Regions from separate parts of the Homo sapiens genome. Here region 2 is linked to region 1. Evidence: promoter capture Hi-C in 16 types of primary human blood cells and fetal thymus (Javierre and others, 2016). All regions are on one chromosome and are shown on one strand. Each heading gives the region's core, a stretch centred on a gene start or on the middle of the fragment in contact. The rest is flanking DNA. Distances are from core to core; before and after follow the strand shown. Region 1 holds the start of HKDC1 (hexokinase domain containing 1). Region 2 overlaps TSPAN15 (tetraspanin 15).

Region 1 (2,700 bases), core at 70-2,569:
TGCCTGGCCTCCTTATTCATTTTGTAAAGCAGGAGGGAGTCATGGCACAGCAGAAAGCATTGAAGGAAGAGTCAGCCAACTTGGATTTAATCCTCATTCCATCCTAAATACTTGGTGACCTTGGCTAAGTCCTCCTGCTAGGAGGACTTCTGTCATCTGCACTTTGAGAGATGCTTTTTGCCCAGGGCCGTGACAGCCAGCCGGTGTGGCCAGAGTAGCAGACTGGGCTCATTTTAGCTGCCTGGAAAGAACCCTGGTTCCCTCCTGTTGACCCTTGGCAACCTTTAACCAGCCCACTTTGGAATGAATTTTGTAGACAAGTTCCCTGAGCAAAGTGACAAAATAATGCACACCATGAATAGTGTACCATTGGCAAATAGCAGGTGCCAATAATAGATATTTCAATTACTGTCTATTGCAACTCACACCTTCTTGCTGCCCACATTTATATGCTTTCAAATACATGAACAAACAGATCTGCCCCAACAGTTCTTTTTTTTTAGATGAAGTCTCACTCTTGTCCCCTAGGCTGGAGTGCAATGGCGCGATCTCGGCTCACTGCAACCTCCACCACCTGGGTTCAAGCGATTCTCCTGCCTCAGCCTCCCGAGTAGATGGGATTACAGGTGCCCGCCACCACACCCAGCTAATTTTTGTATTTTTAGTTGAGACGGGGTTTCACCATGTTGGCCAGGCTGGTCTCGAACTCCTGACCTCAGGTAATCCGCCCACCTCGGCCTCCTAAAGTGCTAGGATTACAGGCGTGAGCCACTGCGCCCAGCCTTCTGCTCCAACAGTTCTTAAAACTTCTTTGAAAATGATTCTCCTCGCCTTTGTGGCCTTTCCGAGCAAACATCCCTTACAGCAAACACAATCCTCTTCAAGCTTTCCAAACACCCTCCTCACCCGCTTCCGCATCCAATACCTGCCAGGAAGTTCCGAGTGAAGTGTAAGGTTCAGGACAGTAATGCAATGCCCAGGAGTGTGGGAGAATTACTCCCTCTTCCCTCAGTGAGTCTTTTACTGGTCATATGCTCCCAGTATCTTTTCTAATAAGCTCTCTTCACTCCCTTCTGATTTTTTTTTTAAGGGAATCAGTTTTGTCCGTGAAGAAGGAGCTGGGCATCTCTCAGCTTCGTGGGTCCTCCTTACCTTCTTGATCTGGTCCTCCTTCAGCTTGCTGAAGTAAAATGCCATCAAGTGGACCGCAAACATTTTCCCCAAGTTTGGTTTCTCCTGAGATGGGCAGAGATTCCTGTGCAGTGTTCACTCCTACGACTCTGGAGTGTTGCACGCTTCCAGTCCAGGCTGGCAGACCTCCTGGGGAGCGAGGTGTTGCGGACTAAATACCTCCAGCCTGCTTGGTTCAATGATTAAACTCCCCCCCACCCCACCCCTTTGGTCCCTCCCTCTGGCACACACTTGATTGTCTAATAGGAGGCTCTGGATGGTAGCTGAGGTTTAGTGGAGGGGGAAGCAGGGTATTGATGGGTTGCTTGACTACTTGAGAATTGGGTGCCACCAAATCTCATTGCTAAGCAACCCTCTCAAGCCGGGGCTCTGCCAAGCCCACTCAGCCGAGGAAAATCTTCTGCGAAGTTGGGCACTAAACAAAGCCAACTTTCAACCGGTGGAGCTGCTCTGCAAATTTCCAGTCCCAGGCTTTTCTCTTTAGTTTTTTATGCCAGTGGCATAACTCTGTGACCCCCTGCTCCTCAGAAGCACTGAACTAACTAAAACTAAACATTGTCCTGGTCAATGGGATTTCAAGAATGTTGGGGCAGATTCTTCCATTTGTGACAGATCAGATCTCTTAACTAATAGCCCATGGTTAACAGAAAATGATCAATAAATGTTTACCTATTCACAGTGTTAAGCCAGAAAATCTTTAGTTCACAGGTAGTGACCCAGGAAAAAATATTCCTGAGAAAGAGTGAACTGAAGTCACCAGTGCTCACTGGGAATCACTGCTGGAGAGAAGGAAGTCACAGATAAGAAATGTCTCAGTCCAGCCGGGTGCAGTGACTCACGCCTGTAACAATCGCAGCACTTGGGGAGGCCGAGGCAGGCAGATCATGAGGTCAGGAGTTCGAGACCAGCCTGGCCAACATGGTGAAACCCCATCTCTACTAAAAATACAAAAAACTTAGCCAGGAGTGGTGGCAGGTGCCTGTAATCCCAGCTACTTGGGAGGCTGAGGCAGGAGAATCACTTGAACCTGGGAGGCAGAGGTTGCAGTGAGCCGAGATCGCGCCATTGCACTCCAGCCTGGGTGACAAGAGCAAAACTCCATCTCAAAAAAAGAAAAAAAAGAGAAATGTCTCAGGCCACTGAGATGTTTTATTCACTCACTTCTCACTCATCATACTTGACATGAGAAGGACCCAGAAAGCACCCAATACATGGGTACAATCAACCTTGCACTCTTCCCACAGTCACTGGCTGGCTAATGAAACCAATAACAACAGCGTTAACAACAGCGGCTAACATGGATGGAGCATTTACCAATCCCATTTTGTTTTTATTACTCTTGTTATTATTATTTTTTAGACAGGGTCTCATTCATCCCCCAGGCTGGAATGCAGTCGTGGAATCATGACTCGCTGCAACATCAGCCTTCTGGGCTCAGGTGATCCTCCCATCTCAATCCCCAGGGTAGCTGGGGCTACAGGCACGTGGCACCATGCCCAGCTAATTTTT
Region 2 (2,795 bases), core at 174-2,673, 280 kb before region 1:
AATGCCCCTCCCCCAGACACCTTCCTCACTTTCTTCAGAGCTTCACCCAGATCCCGCCTTTCTCAGTATCCCAAACTGCAATCCTCCATGCCCTACTTTCTTTTTCTACTCAGCATTTATGATCCTCTATCTTTTACTTATTTTGTTTGTCAGTTTTCTCCACTAGGATGTCACCTCCTTGCGGGCAGAGACTTTGTTTGCTACACCCCCAGAACCTGGAAATGTGTCTGGCATAGAGTAGGTTCTCAGCCAATATTTGTTGAATGAATGAATGAATGAATGAATACAAGTTTGGCTTCCACATCTCAGCTTAGGTATTCAGATGCTGCTGCCCTGGGTGATGAGGTTCAGGATCACCCCACGCAGGCCTCTCTGGAAACTCTGCTACTCCTCAGCACCCCACTTCCCAGAGAACTACCCTAAAATGGCAGCTAACACTTCCAAACAAAGCTTCCCTCCTGGCCCGGCCTTTTTTAGAGCTAGTGCACTTGGCACTGGCTCTCTGACTCATGGGCGAGGCCCCCACCCGCAGCTGCTCAGTTTACAGAATCCAGCAGTGGGCACAGAATGGTGGCAATGTCAGGAGAAAAACTTTCCATGACTATCTGGGCCATGAGTAATTGCAAAGCTCTCCACCTCGTTCCAATCCTGAAACAGTTTCTGGACACATTTGTCAAACACAAGGACTGATGAAGCCTTTCACTTAAGCGCTGACAACACAAGACATCATCCCAAATGACCAAGGTGACAGACCCGAGAGGATCGTGCTGGGGAGAGGAAGAGGATGGCATTTACGTCACCAGACCCCCTTCCAAGCACTCTGCTGCTGATGATCACCAGGACCTCAAGGCCAAAGACCAATGGAGATGCCCAAGGTGCAGGTCCTGCCTGCCTCCACTAATGCTGCAGAGCCAGCTACCCCCGCTAAGCTCCCCTGGCCTGGGCACCTCTCCCTCCTGCCCTCACCTGGCCTGCACAGTTCTCCAGAGTGTAGCTCAGGCAACAGCTGCCTGCACTTCATCCCAGCCCTGCCAACCTTGGGCAAGACACCCAGCCTTTGAGTGCCTCAATTTCCTCATCTGTAAAGTGGGTAAAATAACAGTACATACCTCACAGGGTTGTCGTGAATACTAAATGAGTAAATACCACCAAAGTGCCCAGAGCAGGCCTGCACAAGGTAGGTGCTCAATAGATTTTAACCAACACCACTAAGAAAGACATGGTCTCCCTACCCCCGACCCCCAGAAGCTCCACTTTCAGGAGCCCTTGAGAATCAGGAAAGCCTCCGCTCTGCCACCAACTCCTACTTCCCTGCCATCCACCCACACCACCCATCTTCAAGTTGGGAAGAGAGAAAAGAGAACATTTATACCACCTGGGGTCCCCGACAGCCCCCCAGTCCCCACAGGAGCAGTGTCTACCGTGTTCCTGATGCAGCAGGTGTAGGGCACCCCACAGGCCAGGGGTCCAGGGGCACTGCAGTCGTGGTACTGATTCTTGCTCCAATCTCGGTAGTCCTCCCCGCCACAGCACTTGAACTGAGGGAAGCAAGCAGGAAAGAGGAGCTGCCGTCATCGCCCAGGCCCTGCTCAGACGACAGGAAGGGGCCCTGTCAGGAGACGGAGGCAGTTTATTATGTGGGTCACCCTGGGGCAGGGAGAGGCTGTACACTTTCAAGTCAGAGCTGTCAAAGTGTGGCATGGCTGCCTAGAGGGTAGTGAACCCCCTGTCACTAGAGAGGTATGGAAGCCAAGGCTGGGCTGCCTCTTGGTGGGATATCAGGGTAGTGACTAGGCACTGGGAGGAAAGGTCCTTCCTTGACAACTGGCCTCCACTTTCTTCATCTTCGTGTCCCCAAATGCAGGTGCTAGGCTGGAAAAGATGGCCCTTAAAGTCCCAGAGACCAAGCATGATTCTGTGAAAGTCCCTGCACCTCAACCAACCTTCGCACCCACCCTAGGAGCCACCCCGTCCAGCTCAGCTGGCCCTGCCCTTAGCAAGGAGAGCACCCACACCTCACAACCTGCCTGGAGCTCTCCCCTTAGCCGAGCCCCTCCCTGCCTCCCCTCCCTGCTCCTGTAGGAAGTAGTTGGTAACCCTCCTGATGGCTGGTATGTGCCTGGCATTGTCCTGGGCACTGGAGAGACAGGGTGAGCAAAAGCAAGGCAGCCCTTGCTCAGGTGGAACACATTCCAGTGGAGAGACAGAGAGTGAGCACTGGATGGAAAGGTGCTGTGCAACCTGGAAATGGAGAAATAGGGGGAAAGTGGGGAGGGGCAGCTCTAGGTTGGCAGGTCATGAAAGGGCTCTTTGTAGAGAGGATATTTCATCTGAAACATGGAAACAGAAAGAAGCCAGACGACCCATGCAAAGGCCCCACGCAGAAACAAGCTTGTATTTCAGCAGCAGGTGCGGAGGCCAACAAGCCTGGAACAGAGAGAGTGCAGAGCATGAGGATGAAAGGGCGGCACAGGCTGGACCATGCAAAGCTTTGCCAGCCAGCTGAAGCAGGGAGCTGGGACTGGAGGGCTCAACCAGGGCTGCAGTACACGTCCTGGTAGCCAGACACCTTTCAGAGTCCCCACAGTGCCCCTTAAGCCACCAGGTTTTGGGACCTAGAACTGTCTTTCTGCAATGTAGTTCAAAGGGCATTTGTCTTGCAATGGAACAGACCCAAGGTCAAATCCTCAGACCACCACTCCCTGCTGTGCAACCTCAGGCAAGTTGGTCAGCCTCTCTGAGCCTCAGATGGTTGTCTGTAAAGCAAGAATAAGGATGGCAGCTCTGCACAGCTG

Evidence for each region. The method cuts DNA at HindIII sites, captures the fragments that hold promoters and counts their contacts. A CHiCAGO score of 5 or more calls a contact.
Region 2: a contact is called between a fragment that was not itself captured here and the fragment with the promoter of HKDC1 in region 1, in 3 of 17 cell types (naive CD4 T cells, activated CD4 T cells and M0 macrophages). The highest score is 5.9, in naive CD4 T cells.

Annotation. Positions count from the first base shown.
Region 1 is chr10:69,218,951-69,221,650 of GRCh38, reverse strand. It overlaps HKDC1 (hexokinase domain containing 1), which reads right to left and starts at 1,319. Exons shown (of 18, transcript NM_025130.4): 1 at 1,153-1,319. The coding sequence starts at 1,215. The region is part of intron 4 of LOC101928994 (a long non-coding RNA gene); the gene reads left to right. The HindIII fragment of the contact is 4,258 bases long and covers 888-2,700 here.
Region 2 is chr10:69,497,023-69,499,817 of GRCh38, reverse strand. It overlaps TSPAN15 (tetraspanin 15), which reads right to left. Exons shown (of 8, transcript NM_012339.5): 5 at 1,422-1,538. Among named protein-coding and RNA genes, the nearest start is that of TSPAN15, 47 kb to the right of the region's middle. The HindIII fragment of the contact is 1,941 bases long and covers 453-2,393 here.